Regions from separate parts of the Homo sapiens genome. Here region 2 is linked to region 1. The links are contacts of gene promoters, found by promoter capture Hi-C in blood cells and fetal thymus (Javierre and others, 2016). All regions are on one chromosome and are shown on one strand. Each heading gives the region's core, a stretch centred on a gene start or on the middle of the fragment in contact. The rest is flanking DNA. Distances are from core to core; before and after follow the strand shown. Region 1 holds the start of ACOX2 (acyl-CoA oxidase 2). Region 2 overlaps ABHD6 (abhydrolase domain containing 6, acylglycerol lipase).

The links. Contacts are between HindIII fragments. The CHiCAGO score rates a contact against its expected background, and 5 or more counts as called.
Region 2: a contact is called between a fragment that was not itself captured here and the fragment with the promoter of ACOX2 in region 1, in 8 of 17 cell types (total CD8 T cells, naive CD8 T cells, total B cells and 5 more). The highest score is 7.2, in total CD8 T cells.

Annotation. Positions count from the first base shown.
Region 1 is chr3:58,534,792-58,541,304 of GRCh38, reverse strand. It overlaps ACOX2 (acyl-CoA oxidase 2), which reads left to right and starts at 4,115. Exons shown (of 15, transcript NM_003500.4): 1 at 4,115-4,186; 2 at 6,108-6,358. The coding sequence starts at 6,199. LOC107984079 (a long non-coding RNA gene) reads right to left here and starts at 5,933. Exons shown (of 3, transcript XR_001740724.2): 1 at 4,991-5,933. The HindIII fragment of the contact is 2,666 bases long and covers 3,148-5,813 here.
Region 2 is chr3:58,283,386-58,289,898 of GRCh38, reverse strand. It overlaps ABHD6 (abhydrolase domain containing 6, acylglycerol lipase), which reads right to left. Exons shown (of 10, transcript NM_001320126.2): 8 at 4,760-4,814; 9 at 4,446-4,546. Among named protein-coding and RNA genes, the nearest start is that of RPP14, 20 kb to the left of the region's middle. The HindIII fragment of the contact is 1,880 bases long and covers 3,124-5,003 here.

The DNA of each region.
Region 1 (6,513 bases), core at 2,866-5,365:
ACATGGTGACTGTAATTAACAGCAATGTATTATATACTTGAAAATTGCTAAGAGAGTAGATTTTAAGTGTTCTTACCACAAAAAATTAGTATGTGAGGTAATGAATGTGTAAATTAGCTTGATTTAGCAATTCCACAATGCATATACATATTTCAAAACACCTGATTGTCCATGATAAAGATATACTATCTTTATTTTTCAATGATAAATAAGTTAAATATTTTTAAAGTATAAAAATAGGAAGAATACAAAATAGCATTTTAATACTACCTATGAGGAATCAAATTTCTGATTATCAGCAAAACAATATCACTGACAAGTGGATGCATTTTAATAAACCAAAAAAACTTTATATACATAGGGTATGGTAAACTAAATATTTAAAAAAAACCAAGAACTTAATTTCAATCCAATCACAAGAAAACAGCAGACAAATTCAAATTGAAAGACATTTACAAAACACCTGACCAGTACTCTTCAAAGTATCATGGTCATAAAAGACAAAGAAAGACCGAGGAACTATACTGTTTCATGTAGACAGGACAACTAACTACATGCAACGTGAGATCCTGAATTCAATCCTAAACCAGGAAAAGAACATTAGTGGGAAAACTAGCAAAACTCAATATGCAGAAAAATGTTAACTCAGCAATATTTCAAACCCTGCATAGTCCAAAGAAAGGACTGGCACCTGACAGCTCCTGGGAGGTAACCTCTATGCCCTTGGAATATCCTGCCTGAAAACAGTATCTTTGTATACTTGGGGCCTTGGGCCATGCCAGGCAGTTTATACTAATAATGTGATTCCGAGTGGGTCCTTAGGCCACACTCTATGAGTTTCACATCTGGAGTCGATGGAGACTGAGTAGCTAAGGTCAGCCACACAAGCATCCCATGGCTCTGTGATGACTGCAATAACTCTGGACACCAAGGTGTTGCCAGATGGTGCCATGCAGTTCCAGGCTCTTGGTGTCCCAAACGAAAAGCTGGACTGGGCCGGGTGCTGTGGCTCATGCCTATAATCCCAGCACTTTGGGAGGCTGAGGCGTGCGGATCATTTGAGGTCAGAAGTTCAAGACCAGCCTGACCAACATGGTGAAACCCTGTCTCTACTAAAAATACAAAAATTAGCCGGGCATGGTGGCACATGCCTGTAATCCCAGCTACTCAGGAGGCTGGGGGAAGAGAATTGCTTGAACCCAGGAGGCAGAGGTTGCAGTGAGCCACTGCATTCCAGCCTGGGCAATAGAGCAAGGCTCTGTCTCAAAAACAAAAAAACAAAAAAACCAAAAAACTGGACGTGATACACACAAGTAGCAAAGCCAGCAGCAATAGTTTATTAAGCACAGCATTATACTCTCAAAGAGGGCAGAGTGGGCTGACCTCTGCGAGATGAGATCAGCATCAGTTTCCTGGGCTTGTGGTCTTCTTATGTGTTCTTTTTTCCCTTTCTTTTCCCAAGGCTGCCGAGTCTCTAGCTAGTGTCTGCCTTTTGATTGATAGGCATGTTGCTTACTTTGTTTGGCCCTTGTGCGCTTGCACGTCGCCTCCGTTCCATAATCTCAAGTACATGCATGATATGCAGTCCATATGCATGAGCTTTAATGAGCTGATTATCATACGGGGTCATGTTAAAGATGCTTTTTCGCTCTAATGAGCATGCCTATCTCGGAGGAGCTGCCCCTTACTGGTTTGGTCAGGATCTTGCCAGCCATGGGGTCTCTTTACTCAGTTTTTTATCTTACTTTTGTTTTGGCTGCTTAACTTCTGCTTCTTCTCTTGCTTCTTGCTCACTCACCCCTTCACCTTGCTTCTGCTTTCGCTCATTCCACCCTTTATCCAACCTCCAATTCCTTCTGCTGTTCTCCTGCCTCAAAAGTGTGCTTCCCTGGTTGTCAATACTTCGTGCATATTGTAAACATCGTTGTTGGGAGAATTAAATGCTGTCCATACAACACCACTGGGAGAGGACACCTAGAAGCTCAGTCTATTCTCTCCTAGACTTCGTGCTATGTACCTTTTCCTTCTACTGATTTTAATCTGTAATCTTTTGCTGTAATAAACTGTAACCATGAGTATTACAGTTTCTTCTTGTTTGTTCTAGAGGCAAAGTCTCACTCTGTCACCCAGGCTAGAGTATAGTGGTTCCATTATAGCTCACTGCAGCTTCGAACTTCTGGGCCCAAGCAATCCTTCCACTGCATCCTCCCAAAGAGCTAGCACTACAGGCACACACCACCACACTGGGCTAATTTTTACATCTTTTTTGGTAGAGACAGGGTCTTGCTATGTTGTCCAGGCTGGTCTCAAACTCCTGGCCTCAAGTGATCCTCAAGCCTCAACCTCCCAAAGCAATGGAATTATAGGCGTGAGCCATCACGCCTGGCTCAGTATAACAGTTTCTAAGTTCTATGAGTCTTCCTAGCAAATCACTGGACCTGAGGTTGATCTTGGAGAACCTCTGACACACTCAAATAAGTTCTGAAGATTAGCTGACAATATTGCAGCAGTGTTAATGGCTTGGTTTCATAATTGTACCTTAGAAGAAGCTGAGTGAAGGATATACAAGAACTTTTTGCAGCTTTCTGAAATTCTAAAGTTATTTCAAAATAAAAAGTTAAACACAAAGAACAAGGAGACAAGTGTGATCATTGTTAGTGCTGGGTGTTAGGTACATGCAGGTTCATTATATTTTTCTCTCCACTTTTGTACAAGTTTGAAATATTTTGTAATTTAAAAAGCCTTTTTAAGCTAGAGAATTCAAGATTTCAGTGCAACAAATCAAAATGATCACATCCAAAACATACAGAACAGGGTCAGCTTCAAAGCGGATGAGAAAACAATTTAAACATGGAGAGTTTATTAAAAAGCCTTGCTCCAAGGGCCCCTGAGCAAGGCTTTCTTCACTGGGCACTTCCTGCAATCCAAGCCTTTCTCTATGGCAGAGAGGAACTAAGTCATTGCCCATGGTCAGTGATAGCATAAATCCTTGGCGGAGATGAGTCCAGGTGTAAGTAAGAACTTTCACCTCCAAACAGTGGGGCCAAGACCACCTTCCCTGAAACCACTGCCCACAGCAATGAGGACTGCCAGGAGTCTGAGCCCCACAGCTCCAGAAGGACCTACTAGGTGATAAGTTGCAAAGCTTGGGCCACAGGTCCTGCCTCTTCCTACAGACACAAGCTAGACACTACCTTGGGGATATGATGGGGTGCTGTGAGGCTCCTTACTGAGCAAATACCTTGCATTACAGGGGAGGCCAAGGCCCAGAAAGGAGTACACCTGCTCAGAGTCAACATAGCTCAGAAGTCCTGCCAGAACAGGAGCCTTGATCTCCTACTGGCCCCTTGATTTCTTTCCCAGTCTTACACAAATGTGTTACGTAATCTACTTATTGTGCAAACCCAAACAAAGTGACATCCCTCCCTGAGCCTGTTTCCTTACCTGCAAAATGGGGAGCCGCATCTGACTTTCCAAGGTGGTTATGCAGGGAGGGAACCTCTAAGCCTCTCATTCCTCTCACTAAGACCCAGCTCTCATCTGGATCCCACACACTACAGATGGATGCTTCACAAATATTTTTCCAGGGAATGTCAGGGGATGCTAAGCATAAGACAAGCCATATTTTAGAGCAGAAACATGGGGAGAGAGGAAAAACGTACACCTTACAGAGCAATCCTTTCACATGAGGACCATCTCAGGGGAGCCTATTAAGCTCGTGTGATATTAACAGCTTGAGTGCCTGAAGGGCACACAGTGAAAGATCAGGGAAGACCAGGATATCACTTTGGAAACACTGCTGGGGTACACAGCTTTTTGGTACAAGTAGTGTCAAAGGAATCCCTGGCTTTGAGATGTAAGGGCTCCAACCTCCCAGAAGTCCTCCCAGGGCAGCCCCAGCGACAGGCACAAAGGTCACACCCATGCAGGAAGAGAGGGAGGAAGGAGAGGAGCTCCATAAGCCCAGACAAGGGCTTGAGAGCAGACAAGGGCTTGAGAGCAGACAAGGGCTTGAGAGCAGACAAGGGCTTGAGAGCTGGCCAAGCAGTTTCTCTCAGCTTCTGTGTTCCAGCCCCTATGTGGGAGGAGAGAAGGGCAGGACCACAAGCCTGCCAGAGGCTGCGGCCTACAGCCGGGGAGAGGCCAGCCCGGCCTACAGTGCGGACACAGGACAGAGGGGAGCCAGGTGAGCCAGGTTTTTGGGCAGGGAGGGACTGGGAGACCCCAGAGGAGAGGGCTGCCCCCATGATGACCCTGTCCGCAGCTCCGAGAGACCCTGAGCAAGGCTTTCTTCACTGGGCACCTCCTGCAAATCAGGCCCTGCACTAAGTGTTAGGGTCACGGCATGACAGTGACAAAGATCCCGGCCCTCTTGCAGTTTCTGTGTTAGTAGCAGGGAGATGGAAGTAAACAAAAACATATGAAATGAGTAAATGATCTCAAATGTCAGAAGGGGATAAGTGAAAAGAGAAAAAGGAGAGCAGAGTGAGGAGGACAGGGAATGCCGGGGGAGGGGGCTTGGGGTTTTAAAGAGGGTGGCCTCTTTAAGGTTAAATGAGGTTCAATGCAAAAAGCCCTAGTGACATTTGAAGAAAGGGTGTTCTGGGCAGATGGAGATGCCCTAGCAAATGCTGGCAGTGGCAGGGAGGCCTGGAGCATTCAGAACAGCAAGGAGGCAGTGGCAGCAGAGCAAGGAAAAGAGGTAAGGCAGGACGAGAGGAGCCGCACTAGGGGCACTTGCAGGACTCCGGGGGGCAGAGGATGGGGCCCCTTGCCAGCACCCCCACAGCCCTGCTGGGGGTATTGGTTTGAAAGCCTCATATGAATCATTTGCTACATGTGGTTGCATGACCCTTATAAAGTCTCCTCCCTTTCCAAGGCCCACATCCTCTCCATAAAATGGTAATAACAGCAGTGCATCTGTCAGGTTGAGGTCAGGAAGGAAGGGGATCAAAAGCATGGCAGCCTGCCGGAGAGATTTACAACATACCTGCTGCAAGCTAGGAAATGCAGAGCTGGCCTCCCAGGCCTTGTGGGAGGAACATGTAAGCAAATAAGAACTTGTCCCTAACCCTAGAGCACCCAGGGAACGAGGGAGCTGAACTTTGTTCAGAGAGAACAGCAGGGGCAAAGGGTAGGAAGAGAATGAGTGGAGGCCAGGGATGAGGGCAGTAAGTTGACATAGGAGAGAGGTGAGTGGAGTAGGGTTGGGTAGACACAGCAAGGACTCCATTCCACAAACAGTGGGCCCCAAGGAGCAGATTCCAAGCAGGAGAGGAAAACAATGTGATTTGCAGTTCAAGAGTTCACCTGGCAGCTGGGAGAACAAATAAGAGGAACACTGAGGCCAAGTAAGAGATAACAGTGGCCTGGATGCTAGCCAAAGAGATAGCAAGGAGCAGATGGACTCAAGAGACTTGTGAAATAGGATGGACTGCACCTCATGGTTGCCTCACTGTGGAGGAATAGGGGCTTCTCAGAGGCCAAGCACTTGCCATGAAGGAGACAGGGTCCAACCTGGGTATGAAAGACACTCAGGGGCTCCAGGGGAACACTTCACAGGCAGGAAGAAGGCTTCCTCCCTTCAGTTCCACAATATACCTGCAGGGCTCATAGAAATGGAGCTGAGTGATCCTAGAACTTATGAGCAGTTTAATGAGACCAAGGTGCCCCCAGCAATCCTCCACAGTGGAGCTGTAGTATGGACAAGTCATGTGCTTTGTGGTCAGACCCCATCCAACTCCTGGCCATCTCCAGCTGTGTGGCTAGGGGCCACTCAACCTCTCCAGGATTATTTTCTTCAGGTGTAAGCTTCACTGACTTTTTTGTGAAGATTTCCCTAGGCAATTCATGTAACTCAAACTGCAGTGGATAGAGCCCAATCTTTGGGGTCAGGCCCTGTCCAATTTTGGCTAACAAGTATTGAACAAACATGTACCAAGCAATGGCTGCATACCATGCCTACCATGCACACAGTGCCTGGTCCACAGCCAGTGTCCACAGGGGGAGTGGGGAGGTGGAGTGGCATTCAGGTACTTAGGGATGTCTTTCTTCTACCAACCAGCCCTGGCTGACACCCAGCCCTAGGCAGTTCCTCTTGCACACAGGTTCTTTGCACTGACCAATGCTGAGAGCAGACCCTCGGAGCAGCCGGGTTGGAAGTGTCTCTCCATAGTCACCAGACAGATCCAGGATAGGATGGGCAGCCCAGTGCACCGAGTGTCATTGGGGGATACCTGGAGCAGGCAAATGCACCCCGACATAGAGAGCGAGAGGTATATGCAGTCCTTTGACGTGGAACGGCTCACCAACATCCTTGATGGAGGTGCCCAGAACACTGCACTCCGCAGGAAAGTTGGTAAGGGGAAGCTGGGGAATGGGACATCTGTTTTATGCCCCATGCTTCTCTTGTAAGAAGAGTCCTTCATTAGCAGTTCTGCTTCCAAATAACAAACTTTGCCCTTGAAATTCCACTGTTAGAGATTCATTCCTTCGAACTGTAAAGACAATCTT
Region 2 (6,513 bases), core at 2,814-5,313, 250 kb after region 1:
GCCACCCCGTCCGGGAGGGAGGTGGGGGGGTCAGCCCCCTACCCGGCCAGCCGCCCTGTCCGGGTGGTGAGGGGCGCCTCTGCCTGGCCGCCCCTACTGGGAAGTGAGGAGCCCCTCTGCCCAGCCACCACCCCGTCTGGGAGGTGTGCCCAACAGCTCATTGAGAATAGGCCATGATGACAATGGTGGTTTTGTGGAATAGAAAGGGGGGAAAGGTGGGGAAAAGATTGAGAAATCGGATGGTTGCCGTGTCTGTGTAGAAAGAGGTAGACATGGGAGACTTTTCATTTTGTTCTGTACTAAGAAAGATTCTTCTGCCTTGGGATCCTGTTGATCTGTGACCTTACCCCGCAACCCTGTGCTCTCTGAAACATGTGCTGTGTCCACTCAGGGTTAAATGGATTAAGGGCAGTGCAAGATGTGCTTTGTTAAACAGATGCCTGAAGGCAGCATGCTCGTTAAGAGTCATCACCACTCCCTAATCTCAAGTACCCAGGGACACAAACACTGCGGAAGGCCTCAGGGTCCTCTGCCTAGGAAAACCAGAGACCTTTGTTCACTTGTTTATCTGGTGACCTTCCCTCCACTATTGTCCTATGACCCTGCCAAATCCCCCTCTGTGAGAAACACCCAAGAATGATCAATAAAAAAAATAAAAAAATAAAAAAAATAAAAAATTACCCGGGTGTGGTGGCACATGCCTGTAGTCCCAGCTGCCTGGGAGGCTGAGGTGGGAGCATTGCTTGAGCTCAGGAGGTTGAGGCTGCAGTGAGCTATGATTGAGCCACTGCATTCTAGCCTGGGTGACAGAGCAAGAACCAGTCTCAGAACAAACAAACAAACAACCCCCCTGCCCAACAAAAAACAAAAATCAAAACCTTTTCCTGCATTGCTTCACACCAGGGCTAAAACTATGGTGAGGCAAATGAGGCATTTGCCTAAGGCACAAAATTTAAGTGCCAAAAAACTCATAAATTAAGAGAAAATATTTTAGTGCAGTATGTTAAAAAAAACATTAATGGAAAAAGGCACATGATGAACAAAATATCAAAATCATAAATACAGACAGGATCTGACCCTGCACCTGCATGACACATCTCTCTCATCTCACCCTTGTCTCGGGCCTGTTATGCACTATAAGGGTAGGTAGACGATAAATTGCTGGAGGGCAGGGATCCTGGCTGTCTTGGTCCCTACTGTATCCTCAGGGCCTAATACAGTGTTAGGCACATACTAGGTGCTCAATAAATGCCTGTTAACTGGCTTAAATGTGTAGTCAGTCAGTGGGTTTATCCCTTCACTAGTTGGTTTGTTCACTCAATTTCTCACTTGTTTGCTCACTCACTGTGTACTCTGGGTCTCCTGCATACCAGGCACGGTGCTGGCAGGGAGAAGGGACATAAAGAATAATAGCCTGTCTGTCTCTAGATGGCCCTCCCATTTTGATGGACTGAACATAGAGGAGCGATGCTTGAAATGAAGCATGCAGAAACCCTCTCAGGAAGGGCTGCCATGTTTGGGTGTACAGGTTGTATACAGACCAAATCCATCATTCACAAAAATGACAATGCACATGGCTCCCCCTGCAGCTGTGCAGTATAGCAGTCAGCCTACAGGGGTCCAAAGAAGAAGGAAGCTGAATTTGGCCTGGTAGGGGCAGGTGCTGTGACACCAAATGTTGATGACAGAGCAGGAAAAGAGCCAGCGAGCTTGGGAGGCAAAAGGCTGTGAAATAAAAGACTCCCTGAAGCCTCTGCTATTTGGCCTCTGTCCCAGGGACAGTCCACAAAACACATGAAGGATCTGATCACATTTATAGCAAGCCCATAGAATGTTAGGCTCTTTTTCTGGAATGAAACGGACTTCTGAGTCTGGGAAAAAAATTTGGACCATGCATTGAAGCCACCAACAGAGGCAAAGGACATGAGCAGTCTAATCTAATACCAGCTAACCTAACTTTTTTGCAACTGGAAGATCATTTTCATACATATTATTTCATTTGAGCCTCAAAATAACCCTGGTACTAGAAGTTTCAGAAACCCTTAATTTAGAGGGGCTGAGTTACTTGCTCAAGGTCATGCATGGGCTGACCAAGGACAAAAGTAGGGCTGGAACATAGACTTTCAGAATCCAAGGCCAGTGCCCTTGCTTCTGCGCTGTCTCCACAGGAAGATGGGTTACAGCCTCTCCCTGTTGGCTCCTGAGAGCCCCAAATCACCTTTGGGGTTTTTAGAACAACAGAAGGCCTTCGCTGCTCAGGCTCTGATTCCTGATCAAATGACTCTCTGCTGGCATAGCCCAGGGCACAAACAAAGCTTCTTTCAGTCCCTTGGCGCTGCAGAAGAGAGCACATGAGATCCCCTTCTCTCCACGTCCACAAAACCATGCTGTGAATCCTCACCATGCCTGGCTCATCTAAGACACCATTGCCTCTTATTCTGCGTACACGCCATGGGCACAGCCTGGCTGCTCCTCCCCACTCTCTCCTGCCTGGGTCATTCATGCACTTGTGGGTCTTTGTGGCCACAGTGTGACCTCCTGCCAGTTAAAAATTGATGCATTTAGGTAAAGGGTATGCAGGTATACTCTGTATTCTTTTTTATTTTTATTTTTTTGAGATAGGATCCCGCCCTGTGGCCCAGGCTGGTGTGCAGTGAAGCAATCACGGCTCACTGCCACCTCCATGTCCTGGACTCAAGTGATCCTCCTGCCTCACCCTCCAGAGTAGCTGGGACTACAGATGCATACCACCATGCTTGGCTACTTTTTTAAAAATTTATTTTTTATAGAGATGGGATCTCACTATGCTGCCCAGGTTGGTCTCAAACTCCTGGGCTCAAGCAATCCTCCTGCCTTAGCCTCCCAAAGTGCTGGCATTATAGGCGTAAGCCACCATGCCTGGCCTTCTTTCAAATTTTCTGTAAGTTTGAAATTATTTCAAGATAAAATTTTTTTAAGAATAGAAGGAATAGATTTGTTTGGGCTGATATAAAATGATTTCCAAGATACCTACTTATATATACATATACATATATATATATATATACACACACACACACACACACACACACACACATATATGATCTTATATATCTTATATGCACACCTATATATATCTAAGCTTTCAAACATGCATCTTAGATGCCAGTGTATCTAGCATGTTTGAAAGCTCAGATATGTATAGGTATGCATATATATACACTATACGTGTGCTTAGAATAGGAGTAGGCAAACAATGGCTCACTGCCCGTTTTTATAAATAAAGGTTCACTGGAAAAAGCCATGCCATTTGTTTACATATTGCCTATGGCTGCTTTTATACTATAAGGTCACAGTTACTCAACTGTGTCCAGGTGTGACAGAGACTGGACCACAAGGCTGAAAATGTTTACCATCTGGCCCTTTACAGAAAACATTTGCTAACTTCTGGCTTAAAAAATTTAGGCCAAGCATGTTGGCTCATGCTTGTAATCCCAGCACTTTGGGAGGCTAAGGAAGGTGGACTGCTTGAAGTCAGGAGCTCAAGACCAGCCTGGCCAAAATGGTGAAACCCCGTCTCTACTAAAAAAAATACAAAAATTGCCAGGTGTGGTGGCTCACGCCTGTAATCCCAACACTTTGGGAGGCTGAGGCCGGCAGATCATGACGTCAGGAGATCGAGACCATCCTGGCTAACATGGTGAAACCCCGTCTCTACTAAAAATACAAAAAATTAGCTGGGCATGGTGGCGGGTGCCTGTAGTCCCAGCTACTTGAGAGGCTGAGGCAGGAGAATGGCGTGAACCCAGGAGGCAGAGCTTGCAGTGAGCCGAGATTGTGCCACTGCACTCCAGCCTGGGTAACAGAGCAAGACTTCGTCTAAAAAAAAAAAAACAAAAGAACAAAAAACAAAAATTAGGTGAGCATGGTGGAGGGCACCTGTAATCCCAGCTACTTGGGAGGCTGAGGCAGGAGAATCGCTTGAACCTGGGAGGCAGAAGTTGCAGTGAGCCAAGATTGGGCCACTGCACTCCAGCCTGGGTGACAGAGCAAGACTCCGTCTCAAACGAAAAAAAGAAAAGAAATATATTCAAGATAGTAAGATAAGAGTTGCCTCATGGTAATGGAGAATGGAATTTGGGATGCGAAAAAGAAAAGTTTTCATTATAAACCTTTTGGTGTTCTTTGAAGATCTTTTTATACCATGTGACTACATGGCTTTGATAAAAACAATTTTTGAAAATGATTTAAAATTGTCTTTCCTTTTACCAGACCAAATGTTGTTTCTCTCCACTCCCAGAACTCTGCCCACTGTCAACACTGGCACCCAACACAGGTGCCTTCCCCCTCTTCCTGACAGCAGCGATCAGCTCACTCCATAAATAACCACTTGTTCTTCCTCAAGGACGTTTTTCCTCAGAGGCCCTGGTGACCAGCACAGACTGCCGCGGGGATGTGTTACATACCTGGTCTTGTTTCCCCCAGATGATCTGCGTCGGAACCTTGATCTTGTCCATGTTCTGATGGAGAGAGTATCTGGACTTCTCACTGACGATTTCCAAAAACACTTGTCAGAAAAGGAAAACAAAGTGAGTATGTGCTGGACTGTGCCTGTGGCACCACCGCAGAATCAAGGGATAGTCACCAGATCCAGGCCACCACTTCCTCTCTTCAGGGGCCCAAAGAGACATTCAAAGTGTCAGAGATTTAAGAAATAAAAGCCATCCATCCACAGAGCTTCACTTGTAACAAGCTCCAAGCTGAAAGTAGGGCTACTTACACTTTCGGTAGAAGTTGTTATGAGGGATGCGGACATCGACAAGGCCTTGCAGGATCTAAGGATAAATAACCCAAAGTTAGAGAGCAAGAGAAGATTCATTTCCTCAGGCCTCTCACAGCTCTGGGACAATGAATGGGAATGAGGTCCAGCAATTTATTGCACTGTCAAGGTCTTTAGAGCCTGGTCCTCTGAATTCCCATGATGCAGCACACAGTCTAATGGGGAGTTAGGCTTCTAAGAAGCTTTTTATTATTATTATTATTATAAAGGAACTTGGGTAATATCGTGAAACTGGAGGTGCCCTACAGCATGTTAAATACACCTGAGATGGCCTGACAGCAACTTTAGCTTGAGAGATTCTCTGCTTCACTTAAGACATAATCAGGATGGGCCGGGCATGGTGGCTCATGCCTGTAATCCCAGCACTTCAGGAGGCCAAGGCGGGCAGATCACTTGAGGCCAGGAGTTCAAGACCAGCCTGGCCAAATGGTGAAACCCCCATCTCTACTAAAAAGACAAAAACTAGCAGGATGTGATGGTGCAGGCCTGTAATCCCATCTACTCGGGAGGCTGAGGCAGGAGAATCACTTGAACCCAGGAGGCGGAGGTTGCAGTGAGCTGAGATTGCGCCACTGCACTCCAACCTGGGCGACAGTGAGACTCTATCTCAAAAAAAAAAAAAAGACATAATGAGGATGACCATAATATCAAGTAATTCGCCAGTAATATCCAAACGCAGAACAAGTTCCATTAAAAAAATTAAGCCACTGGGGGATGATAGGTCTATTAAACAACAAAGAAATAAACTATTGAAAAGATTCTGGGGAGGGTTCCACAGTCCCACTGGGAGGGTTCAACAGCCCTTTGTTTATCATTTGACACTGTCTTTGCCTTCCCTGCTGAGGGCTGGTGAGGGCTGCAGCCAATGTGGACAGGCCACATCTTCTGGACCTGGGCTACTGACCCAAAGAGGTAGTGGTGGCTGGAAGGAACACAGTTCTTCTCTTCCTCCTGCCTCAGGACTCCTGAGGTAGAGTACAGGGTTCACATTAGTGGCTGTACTCCTCTACTCCTCTCCTCTACCTGCAAACAGGTCTGAACCCTTTAATTACACTCTCTCAGGAGTCCTGTGCACTGACTGAAAGTGGGGAAGAACCAGCCATGGCTGCTATGGACTAAACCAACCCTCTGGAGCATCACTAGACTCTAACTCATTCAGCCTGGACATGAGGACAATGACAATTTGTTGAATAACAACATTGTGCTCAGCATCAGAGATTTTCTTTGTTCAGCTATCCACCTGTACCCACATATCTATTCATCTTGTGTCCATCCATCCTCCACCTCTGCTCAATGCAGCCATCCATCCTGAACCACATATGCATTTGTCTACCTATCTATCCTGTATTCATCAATCCATCCAACCTCCATCTCTGCATTAACCAGATATCCTCCCATCCATCCATCCATCCAACCATTCAGCCATCTATCCATCCTGCAGACCTAAATCATCTGTGCACTGGCACATCAATCAATTCATGCAAAAATCTATCCTGCATCTACCCACCCATCCATTGTCCATCCCTGCATTATCCAGGCATCCTCTCATCCATCAATCCATCCAATCTATACCTAGGACCTACTTCATGCAAGCACTGTGCTAAAGTCTGGGGATAGAACAGCCAATTAAGACAAAGTCCCTAGTGGAAGACACAGACGTGCAATCACAACACAATATGACATGGTGGGCTGAG